2 separate regions of the Homo sapiens genome follow, and region 1 is linked to region 2. The links are contacts of gene promoters, found by promoter capture Hi-C in blood cells and fetal thymus (Javierre and others, 2016). All regions are on one chromosome and are shown on one strand. The core of a region is centred on a gene start or on the middle of the fragment in contact, and the rest is flanking DNA. Distances in the headings are between cores, read along the strand shown. Region 1 overlaps SPC25 (SPC25 component of NDC80 kinetochore complex). Region 2 holds the start of STK39 (serine/threonine kinase 39).

Region 1 (6,035 bases), core at 2,971-5,470, 630 kb before region 2:
TTCATATATCCAGATCAAATATGTGTCTCAGACAAGCTTTGCAGTTTTTTTCAAACAGAGCCTACATATTTCTTGATCTAGGTTGATTCTGAATTTTCTGTTTGTTACCTCTGTAAACGAGATTTTCCTGTTGCCTGAGGAATGCTTGTCTTGAGAGATGTTGTTCAAGCACTGAGAATTCCATGCTCACTTCAATTTGGGAAACATATCATAGTGTATTTCTCTTTTGAAGATTTATGGTATTTAAAGTCTTCATAAATTCAGTGATGGACTAACTTGTTTAACTTTGAGAAAAAGATTACTCATCCTTGGAGCACATATTTACTTGTAATTATGATACTGGAATTAAATGACAGTATAGATAGTTTGGTTTATTTGATACAATTCTAGACTACTGGCATTAATTGGCATTCGATTTTAAAGTGTTTAGATTTCATTTAAGTATTAGTAAAACTAAATCTTTAATTCAGAAATTCATAAGCACATTATAAAGCACCACTTGAGCTCTACTGGCTCTGCTTATTTGACCTCAGTAGCCTCTGCCCTAGAGCTCTTATGCTTTTTGTGCCTTCCTGCTTTGTCTAGCCCCCTGATTGGCATTTTGGGGACACCATCTCTGTGCAATGGGCCCCAAGTAGCAGCGGTTGTATCTTTCTTCCAACAAACAGAGGAAGAAGTGGTCCTGCCAGGGTTACTCCTTTCCCAGCAGAGAGGTTTGGCCAGGTTTATGCACAGGCATTGTTGTTTTTATTTTGAGCATGTGTGTGAGAAAGGGGTGGGTAGTTGCAGAAGCTGAGTGTTTAAGAGGGCTAGGGCAAGAAGAACTTGTACAGAGAGTGACAGGGACATGGGGAAGGCAGGGAAGGTAGAGAGATTAAAGCCAAGAAGGAGTAATGAGGTGCTGGCCAATATGTGAGACAGATGTAAAAGGCCAGTATTTTGGTACATGGATACCTTGTTTTATTGCACTTCACTTTATTGCACTTTACAGATATTGCAATTTTTACAAATTAAAGGTTAATGGCAACCATGTGTCAAGCAAGTCTGTGGGCACCATTTTTCCATCAGCATGTGGTGACTTCGTATCTGTCACATGTTGGTAATTCTCACAAGATTTCAAACTTGTCATTATTATATTTCTTGTGGTGCTCTATGATCAGTGATCTTTGACGTTACTATTGTAATTGTTTTAAGTGCCATGAATGACACCCATATAAGATGACAAACTTAATGGATAAATGTTGAATGACTTCTGACTGCTCTGCTGACCAGCCATTCCTGTCATTCTTCCTCTCCTTGGGCCTCCCTAGTCTCCAGTATTGAAATTAGGCCAATTAATAACCCTATAGTGACCTCTAATTGTTCAACTGAAAGAAGGAGTCATAGGTCTCTCACTTTAAATCAAAAGCTAGAAATGATTAAGCTTAGTGGGAAAGTGTGTCAAAAGCTGAGATAGGCTGAAAGCTTGGCCTCTTGCGCCAATTAGCAAAAGTGCTAATTCAGTGAACACACGAATGATAAGAAAGAGAAACAGCCTTATTGTTAGAGAAAATTTTAGTGGCCTTAATAGAAGAGCAAACAAACCACAACATTCCCTTAAGCAAAAGCCTAATTCAGGGTAAGACTCTAGCCCTCTTCAATTCTGTGAAGGCTTGAGAAAGATGAGGAAGTTTCAGAAGAAAAGTTTGAAGCTAGCAGAAGTTGGTTCTTGAGGTTTAAGGAAAGCAGCTGCCTCCATAAAATAAAAATGCAAGATGAAGCAGAAGTGCTAATGTAGAAGCTACAGCAAGTTATCTAGCTAAGATCATTGAATGAACAGATCATTAAAGAACGGATTTTTGATGTAGATGAAAAAGCAGTTTTCTATTGGAAGAAGATGCCATCTAGGACTTTCATAGCTAGAGAGAAGTCAAGGCCTGCTTTGAAGCTTCAAAGACAGGCTGACTCTTTAGTGACTAATGCACCTGGTGACTTTAAGTTGAAGCCTGTGCTCACTTGCCATTCCCCAAATCCTAGGGCCCTTAAGAATTATACTAAATCTACTCTGCCTATGTTCTATAAATGGAATAGCAAAGCCTAGATGACAGCACATGTGTGTATAGCATAGTTTACTGAATATTTTAGGCCCACTGTTGAGGCCTTCTACTCAGGAAAAAAGATGGCTTTCAAAATATTTCTGCTCATTAACAGTGCATCTGGTCACTCAAGAGCGCTGATGGAGATTAGTGTTGTTTTCATGCCTACTAAGACAACATCCATTCTGCAGCCCATGGATCAAGGGGTAGTTTTGACTTTCATGTCTCATTATTTAAGAAATAAGGTTATAGCTACCCAAATAGTGATTAACTCTGATAGATCTGGGCAAAATAAATTGAAAACCTTCCAGAGAAAGGATTCACCATTCTAGATGCCATAGAACATTCGTGATTCACAGGAAGAGGTCAAAATATCAACATGAACAAGAGCTTGGAAGAAGTTGATTTTAACCCTCATGGATGACTTTGAGAGGTTCAAGACTTCAATGGAGAAAGTAACTACAGATGTGGTAGAAATCACAAGAGACCTAGATTTAGAAGTGGAGCCTGAAGATGTGACCGAATTGCTGCCATCTCAGATAAAACTTGAATGGATAAGGAGTTGCTTCTTATGGATAAGCAAAGAAAGTGGTTTTATGGAATGGAATCCACTCCTGGTGAAGATGCTGTGAACATTGTTTAACTGACAACAAAGGATTTAGACTATTATATAAACTTAGTTGATAAAGTAGCGCAGGGTTTGAGAAGACTGACTCCAATTTTGAAAACAGTTCTACCAGGGGTAAATGCTGTCAAACATCATTGTATGCTGCAGAGAAATCTTTCATGAAAGAGTTGATTAATGCAGCAAACTTTATTGTTGTCCTATTATAATAAATTGCCACAGCCACCCCAACCTTCAGCAGCTACCACTCTGATCAGTCAGCAGCCATCAACATCAAGGCAAGACCCTCCCCCTGCAAAAGTTTAGGACTTGCTGAAGGCTCAGATGATTATTAGCATATTTTAGCAATAAAATATTTTTAATTAAGATATGTACATTTGTTTTTTAGCCATAATGCTATTGCACGCTTAATAGACTACAATATAGTGTAAAATAACTTTTCTATGTACTGGGAAACCAAAACATTTGTGTGACTTGCTTTATGGCAATATTCGCTTTATCACAGTGATCTGGAATAGAACTTGCAATATCTCCAACGTATGCCAGTACTTAAAAATAGCACAGAATAGCAAAAACTAATAAAACCAATAAAAACAAAGAACAAAAACGAATATTGCAGCTATTAATATTAGTATAAACATCTATTCTTACCTATGTATTAATCACTGGTGTTATGTACAAAAACTATTGATTTTTTTGGGGTGTAGTACCACAAATTCTGATAGGTTTTCAGTAGATTTTTCTGAGTATTCTAGATAGATGTCTATTGTCTACATATAATGAAAAATAGTTCTTGTTTTTTCCTTATAGTTTTACCAGCTAAATATCTTGTCTTGGCCAGAAACTTCTAGGGAAATATTAAATAACAGTGCTAACTGGCATCTATTTTATTCCTTTTGGAAATGCCAAATATATATGATGAGATTTGAAAGGTTTTTGATTTGTTTCTATCATGTTAAATGTCCTTCCATTTATAGTTAAGAATAGTCAGGAGTGGATGCTGAATTCATATGAAATGTCTCTTCAATTCTTATTCATGTGATGGATTTTCCTAATATTACACCTTCACTATGTAAAATCCTTGGTATAAACTATATTTGCTCTTAGTGGATTATTTTTAATGTAACTTAATATTTTATTGAGCATCTTTGCACCTATGTTTTTAAGTGAGATTAGTTTATATAGTTGTGGGCAGAGGGCCAGTGCTATCTTTAATTTTTTGTTTTAGCTTTAGAATTATGCTTACATTGTAAGCTTTGCCTGCCCACCTGTCTTCCTTCACTTATTTCTGTCTTTTGGTATGTTCCGGAATAATTTATATAGCATTAGAGTGAGGCTTTTCCTCAAAGCACTGTTTAAAACCATCTTCTAGAGTTTGGTTGTTGGCCAGGCGTGGTGGCTTGCACTGGTAATCCCAGCACTTTGAGAGGCTGAGGTAGGAGGATTGCTTGAGCCTAAGAGTTTGAGACTAGCCTGGGCAACATAGTGAGACAAAAAAATTTAAAAATCAGCCAGGCGTGATGTGGTGTGTGCCTGTAGTCCCAGGTACTAGGGATGCTAAGGTGGGAGGCTGCAATGAGTAGTGATTGTGCCACTGTATTCCAGCCTGGGCAACAGTGAGACCCTGTTTCAAAAAAATATAAAAATAAAATAAATAATAGAGTTTAGTTATCTTTGTTGGTAGTTTTTATTTCTGTGCTTATTTGGAGTGGGGAGCTGCAAGGGTCATGATCTTTTGATTTTCTGTTTCTTGATTTAATTTGGTATTCTCATTTTAAGAAGCTTTTCTGTCTCATTTTTTTTAAAGATGAGTAAGTAGGAAAGAATAGATTAGGTTTTTTTTCTTTTTTGTCTTTTATAATTTTGAATCATTAGAAAATGCTTATCAGTCAAAACATTCTTTATTAATCTTTATGAAAGTCAGTAAACTTTGGCCTTTTCTTAGATACATGTCAGAGAGCCAAGCATATTCTAGCTAATACCTTGTGCTTCTTACAGAGATCAGCAGGCAAAATAAGCTCATTCAAGAAAAAAAGGATAACTTGTTAAAATTGATTGCTGAAGTAAAAGGCAAAAAGCAGGAATTGGAAGTACTGACTGCAAATATCCAGGATCTTAAGGAAGAATATTCTAGGAAGAAGGAAAGTAAGTTTCCTCTTATAAACATACTGATCTAAAATGGAAAGTGGTGACGGTTCACCTTTATTAAGTACATCTTGCCTGTTCCAGTTCATTGCTAAAAATGGATTACAGTACCCCAGGGCATAACCAGCCACTCATCTCTGCAAGATGTCATTAAAGTTAACTAACTGGGTTTTATTTTCTTTTGTCTTACTTAAAGGGCCTTCTCTTGTTATTTTTAATATAATCAGTAATAATGAAATTGATAGGAGGTTTTAATTAAGCAGAGTGAGAAATGGTGTCCCTAAATAAAATTTGCTTTGGACAAGCCATAGTGTACTTTATGCAACAAATATTTATTGACCATACATTCTCTGCCAGGTAATGTTAAGCGTTCTTTTTATGCTGCAAAATCTCTTATGTATAAAGAACTTTCATATTCAAATGAATGCATCTTTTAGAAAGGAGCCTTGTTTGCTCACAAACTAGGTAGTCTATTCTTCAAATCTGAAAATAGCAAAGTTTGTTTTGTAAATGCTTTTTCTTGTGGAGTTCTTATCCAAGTCTAAATTGTGAAATTATTTTTCTCATTACTTAGGGACTATTGTGCTACTTTAAAGTATATTTAGGGACTATTGTGCTAACTTAAAAAAAAAAAAAAGAAAAAACTAAACTAGCATGAAATAAGGCTGACCTCTCATAAGAAATAGTTATGTTAAAGGAAGAGAACATTTTCCCATGAAGCAATTGGTTATCTAGAAAAAAAGCACAGTAGTATAAATGAAGTCTATTTCTATGCCAGCCATACAAATCCCTGGCCTATTTACTTATGCTACTACATAATAAAGTAAGACAAGGCTTATTCTTCTCACTATCTGTATACATTTTCCTGAGCAGTTTTTCCTTCCAACTTGAATGAACAGAAGCTTCTTTTAGCCAACTGGTAGATATAGAAACAATAAATGGAAGCAGATTTATAGGCTTGGCATCATTTTATAGTTGATTTTAAGTTTAAAAAATTAACTCAGTGAGCATTAATTTGCTATTATTTAAAACATTTAATATTGTGTGTGTTTTTTAATCAGCTATTTCTACTGCTAATAAAGCGAATGCAGAGAGGTTGAAAAGGCTGCAGAAATCTGCAGACTTGTATAAAGATCGACTTGGACTAGAAATTCGAAAAATTTATGGTAAGTTTGTTAATATAAATAAAA
Region 2 (6,079 bases), core at 1,782-4,281:
ACTTGGGAGGCTGAGGCAAGAGAATCGCTTGAACCTGGGAGGTGGAGGTTGCAGTGAGCTGAGATTGTGCCACTGCACTCCAGCATGGGCAACAAGAGCGAGACTCTGTCTCAAAAAACAAAACAAAACATCGAAGTCCAGATTTGAATCCAGTACTTTCTTTCTTCAAGGCGTTGGCCACTTCACTACACATCCTCTCTTAGATGTTCAAAGGGTTTATGAATAAATAATGGAACTCTACGAAACCTCTTTGTAATACAAATAACCACTGCAATAATCTGTTTATAAAATGAAAATGTATACTTACTTCATCTAAAGCATTATTTACCCTCCAGGGGACATTTGGCAATGTCTGGAGGCATTGTTGATAGTCACAATGTCAGCAGCAGGGTTGCCACTGGCATCTAGTGCATAGAGGCCAGGGTGCCTTTGTCTGCTCTGGCTGGTATGACAAAATACCTTAGACTGGGTAGCTGACAAACAACGGAAATTCATTTTTACAGTTCTGGAGGCTGAAAGTCCAAGATCAAGGTGCCAGCAAATTAGGTATTTACTGAGGGCTTGCCCTCTACTTCATAGCTAATGCCTCTAGCTGCATCCTCATCAAGCTCCTTCCGGCCTCATTTATAAGGGCACTAATCTAACTCAGGAGGGCTCTGTCCTCATGACCCAATCTCCTGCTAAAGGCTCTTAATACTATTCCACTGCCGATTAAGTGTCAACATATGAATTTTGGGGGGACAGAAACATTCAGACCATACCACAGGAGAACAGACCTCTACAACGAAGAGAACTATCTGACACAAAACAGCGCTGAGATTGAGAAACCCTGACACATCATGAGGCAGTTGGATACACTTTAAAAACATTTAGACCCTTATTTTTCCTTTCTATTTTTAACATCGCTCACTGAATGTACTCTTTATGCATTGAAATAAACCTTGTTTATATTTTAAAGGCACCCGCCTCCATCCCCATCTTTCAATTTAAATTTAGTAATGGATTTTCCGGGAAAAGTGCATATCAGTTGAATACTTCTAAAAAACATATATTTCTAAGTTTTAAGTACCATTTTACCCAATTGTTTACAGAAACATTAACTCTAATGCTTTTGTATAATTTTAAAATATTATTCATATTCTGTTCTTCATTTATAAAAATGATGCCAAAGAGCAATGCCAGGGGACATTCTTCTTTAAACCGATTTACTGTAGAAATGATGGATGTGCACTGAGTCATCCACTCAAGCAAGTCTTCATCCTGGTAGCCATTTGGAAAGCGGTTGACTAGAGACCGACATGTAGTCTGTGACTGGGGAACAGTTGCTTTTTGTGGGAGACTAATTGATCTGTGTTTGATTCAATTCTGTGATATTGATCTTGACGGCATCATGTTTTCCTACTAAGTCCCAAGAACATTCCTGGTCTTCATAATCCCACTTCATGGTTTGAAAGTCAAAAATAGAAATTCATATGACAAAATGGAAGTCATATTCATTTGATCATTTTTCTTTTCCTTTAAAAACAGTCCTTAAAAGTTCTTTGGGGTAGGGTGGAGGCAGCACTTGAAGAGGTCAGCAGCCATGGCTTGGTATAAAGAGCTCCCCTGTTCCTCAGAGGCCTAGAATTTGTTTATGAAGGGCTCTGTTTCTTGACAGACATGACAAGACACAGTTTTTGAAGTCCTCCGCATCAAAGAATGTACACTTAGTTCAGCATGAACTTCTGCTTCAAGACCAGAGCGAGGTAGCTGCTTTACTCCAACTTTTGTAATGCTCCAAGAGATTAAGTGCCCTCATCTTCAGTGGACATCAATGTTTTGATTAGACAACTAACTTTCCTAATAAATTTCTGGGCTTCTTCTGAATAATCTTTCAAAAATTTTAGTGAGATTTCTGTACATACACTCGGGAGACAAAATCATGATATCCCTAGAGTTTTTATTACATCCTCATTATTCTTACCTATTTCTTCAGCAGTCCTAGCAATGAGAACCAGACAAGATCATCTTGGCCAAACGACCAATACTATTGGTTTACTGCCCCGTTTCAGTTGGAGACAAGAACGGTGGATCCTGGTCACCTCCACGGAGGGAACACAGAGAACATTCACTGTTAAATATGACACCTATAATTAGGAAAACCTATGGTTTTACCATAGCAGTTTTACAGACGAGGTTATTTTTGGGGTGTTGAAAAAACAGCAATTAAAAGCTTCCAACACAGTTTATTCATGCCCCAATAAATTATTTCCCCACCAAGTATACGCTCTTAAAGAAACGCCTGATGTCTGGCCTCAGTGTCCTCACGGGCTAACGTGGCAATTATTAAGGGTGTAGAATTTGAGCAAACTTTCTAAACCTCTCCTGCATGTCTTATTCTAATTCCACAGCCCCTTAAATCGCCTCCCTGGGATCCAGGCGGCTTGGAAAAAATGAAGTCTGAACAGCCAGAGACCTAAGGAATCAAGTTTCATTTACTAAGAAAAACTAGAAGGACTGCGATTAGATTAGGCAAGGTGGGAAAGGGATACCGGCAAGTAAAGCGCCGGAAACTTACAACTTGGGTTATTTTCTAACTGGCGTCTTGCAAAGGGACACCATGTAGGTATCCCGCTCGTCAACTTGTAAATGAACTTCAGGTTCTCTTTGGTGGCAGGAGAATTCTGAATGTGAGAACCTGGCGGCCGTTCAACGACCCCGCCCTCGGGGTCCCCAGGGGGCGTCCTCCGGCAAGCCTGATCGTCTGGGGCCAAGGCGCAGGGCGAGCAGGGAGGGAGGAGGAGAACCAGGGCCGGTGGCCCCGAAAGCACACACAAAGCGGCCTGACTCCTTTGGTGGGAACTTCCCCGGCCGCCAGCGGAGCGGGAGCGGGAGGGGGCGGCGGAGAGGGGGGGCGGCGGTTCCCCTCGCCGAGGCGGAGAACAGCGCGCGCTAGGCTCTGGGCGCGCGGCGAGCGCAGCGGCCGCCGCCTCCTCCCTTCCCCGCCTCCGCCGGCGCTGCCTCCTCCCTCCGCCCAGCTCGGCCTCCCTTGCTCCCTCCCCTCCTAGCTGGCTTCGGCGGGGACGGCGGCGGCGGCGGCGGGCGGGGAGGGCGTGCGCCGGCCGAGAGGTGTCGGCGGCGAGGCAAAGGAAGTTTCAAGTGGAAGGTCGTCCGTCGGCCGGCGCGTCCTCCTGCTCTCCTCCGCAGCATCATGGCGGAGCCGAGCGGCTCGCCCGTGCACGTCCAGCTTCCCCAGCAGGCGGCCCCGGTGACAGCGGCGGCGGCGGCGGCCCCGGCGGCCGCGACAGCAGCGCCGGCCCCGGCAGCTCCCGCGGCCCCGGCCCCGGCCCCGGCCCCGGCGGCACAGGCTGTCGGCTGGCCCATCTGCAGGGACGCGTACGAGCTGCAGGAGGTTATCGGTCAGTGCGGCGGGCGCGGCGGGGCCGGCACAGGCCGGGCGCCGAGGCCGGGCGGGAGGGGGCGCGGGATGCTGGGCTAGCCTGCATGCACGCCCTGGAGGCAGAGAGGCCGGCTTCGGGGCCTACTGGCTTCAACAGTTTTTTTTTTTTTTTTTTTTTTTTTTTTAATTTTTAATGTATTTGTTCGTTCTATGAGCGTTGGTGCTGCAGGAGGCGGCGCGGCGGATGTGACTCGCACTGCAGACGAGCCGCATGCTGCAAACTTTTATCTCAGGGATCGCCGGGGCGGTGGAGCGGAGGACCAGGCGGCGCCGCCGCATCTTCCTCCCCCCGCGTGCCGGGACCGCAGCCCGTGGCCGGTGGCCACGCGGACAGGCAGCCGCGGGTGGGGTGTGGTTGCGGGGGCCCCGCCCTGGGTTTCCAGGGCCCCGGGGGCCGCGTCCTGGGGGACTCTGCGGGCGCAGCCGCTCCTCTGCCTCCCGTCGTGACCCTCTCGTCGTGGGTAACGGGGCCACGTAGAAGCCGCGGAGGCCCCAGTGCTTTTCTGAGGCCGGGGAGGATGCTGGCCTCTCTTCCTGACAGCCGCCACTCCACGCCCGCCTTGCAGCCCGGCTCTCCGCGCCACTCGGCGCGCCCGGGTACCCGCCTCCCTCCGTGCCAGGGTGCGCCGCCTGCCGCCCAGTCCGGCTCCCCGGGGAAAGCGGGTGCCCTGGCCTCCTGCCCTGCACCGGGCCGATGCTTCCCTCTGTTTCAGGCCGAGCTGCAAGAGTGAAATCCGAGGCTGCCGGTGATCTGCTCTCTGCCTTTCGTTGCCTTCTGGCCGGCTCACAAATATCACCTTATCTTACATTTTTAAATACCTGGCAGAGTCGCAGGGCTCGGCGTTACTTTTCCTTGGGCCAAGCACTTGAAGGGCCAGGAGATTTGTTTTGTCCCTTGACTTAGAACCTTCCCTATTGGATCATCCAGTTTGAGAGTCTTGTCACTTAGGGAAGCCTCCAGGTTAAGTGGGCCCTCAGCGTCTAACCTTACTGACGCAGGGATGGGATGTTGCCTTTCCAGAATCTTGGTATATAAGTACAGCGATGAAAAAGGAGTTCAGAATATTTATCTTAAGTATTTTTTCTAACTTTCACTTCAAAAAATTCTTCACCTCCTTTTAAAAAAATTAAAACAGATATAAAAATTTCACTAGGTGTTTAAATGAGCCTTTATCACCTGCTATTGGGGAATAAAACAGCATAGACGGAAATATATATATAAATATATACATAAAAATATGTGAGAAAATGTTGGGCAGGTCCGTAACCTAGGATATATACAAGCTTCAGATAACCTATAATAGGCATCTGTAGACAAAATTCTTTGAAAACCCAGATCTTTCATAATTTTTGACCAAAGACTCTAAAGGGATGAGTCTTCATGTCACTGCCTGAAATAGCTTCAGGGGCTTCTCAAAGCCTGGAATATTCCATGGAAACCTCTTTAACCTGGCATATAGGCCCTGTACCCTCAACCTGCCTGCCTCCTCCCATTGTCTACTCTTCAGTGATTGCTTCCTGAATACACCGCTGTCTTCCGCACATCTGGTCTTCCATTCTTTGCTGCCTTGCAGAGGCTCTTCCCTCCTGTGAGTGCCCATCTTTGTGTACTAAATCTCACTCCGCTTCCAAGGTGAGTGTGAATATTCCTTGAAAAGCCTTCTGCTTCTTTCAAGGCAAAATGCCGTGGTTTCTTCTGCCCCTCTTTTTACAGACCTCATAGCATGTAACCTCATAGTTGTTATTTGCGCAACAAGATCTGAAGGCCTGCTGTGTCCCAAGCATTGCCCCACTTGCTAGCAATATAGAAATTAACAAAAGTGATCCCTGCCCTAAGTTGTTAGGAGACATAGGGAAAGGATCCTATAGGATGTGATGAGTAAGTACTGGGAGAGCCCGAAGGAGGGAGTGACTGCCAGGAAAGAGAAGGAAGCAGAGTATTTCTTAGTAGAGGTCGTAGTTGAGCTGGGTTTTAAGTCTGAGTTTGTAAGGTGCTTAATTATTTCCACTGTTGCCTTCACTAACCAGCTGTGAACTCTGACAGGAAGAGGTGGGCCATAAAAGTTGAATAATGGTATCTGCCACATAATTCTCCATAGAGTCCATAGGATTGGGAGAAGTTATAATCAATTTATATACCTACTTGGTCAATTATTAGGGTTAAAATACAAACGTTGCCTTTTGAAAACAGTATTTTTTTGTGAACTAATAAAATCTTAGTTTAAGTTGAGTGGGATTAATGGCAGGACTTCTTTCTGTTTGCAGTCCCAGCAGTGTTAATTATGGTTGGTCAGTTTAGTGGAAAAAAAGAAATTTACCTGAGGAATTTGAGAACAAAAACACCTGCTTATTCTACCCTGACTTTTGCGCATTTGCATTGTGGGAAGGGCTTTTCTACATTTAAAGTTTATCTCATATTTTCCCAACTAAAAGAGAAAGAGTTGGCCTGTGTGGAGGCCCTGTTATTGAAAAATCAAATTGCTGGAATAGGTTTTTCGCAAGGGCTTAATGTTTATAAGGAATTACAAACCTGTTTCCATTTAGGGTTTAATGCTAGTTGAGAGATTAAGACTGAACTTGTGGTTAAGCACTTTTGCTTAAACATTACACGCAGAAGTTAGCAGTTCAAACACTGAACCA

The links. The method cuts DNA at HindIII sites, captures the fragments that hold promoters and counts their contacts. A CHiCAGO score of 5 or more calls a contact.
Region 1: a contact is called between a fragment that was not itself captured here and the fragment with the promoter of STK39 in region 2, in 1 of 17 cell types (total CD4 T cells). The highest score is 6.0, in total CD4 T cells.

The regions. Positions count from the first base shown.
Region 1 is chr2:168,876,048-168,882,082 of GRCh38, reverse strand. SPC25 (SPC25 component of NDC80 kinetochore complex) reads left to right here. Exons shown (of 7, transcript NM_020675.4): 4 at 4,699-4,845; 5 at 5,907-6,011. Among named protein-coding and RNA genes, the nearest start is that of SPC25, 11 kb to the left of the region's middle. The HindIII fragment of the contact is 528 bases long and covers 3,957-4,484 here.
Region 2 is chr2:168,244,547-168,250,625 of GRCh38, reverse strand. STK39 (serine/threonine kinase 39) reads left to right here and starts at 3,031. Exons shown (of 18, transcript NM_013233.3): 1 at 3,031-3,398. The coding sequence starts at 3,191. It overlaps LOC107985959 (a long non-coding RNA gene), which reads right to left and starts at 2,665. Exons shown (of 5, transcript XR_007087282.1): 1 at 2,558-2,665. RefSeq lists silencers at 2,826-3,075, 3,286-3,335, 3,696-3,745, 3,836-3,925, 3,946-4,145. The HindIII fragment of the contact is 2,511 bases long and covers 2,215-4,725 here.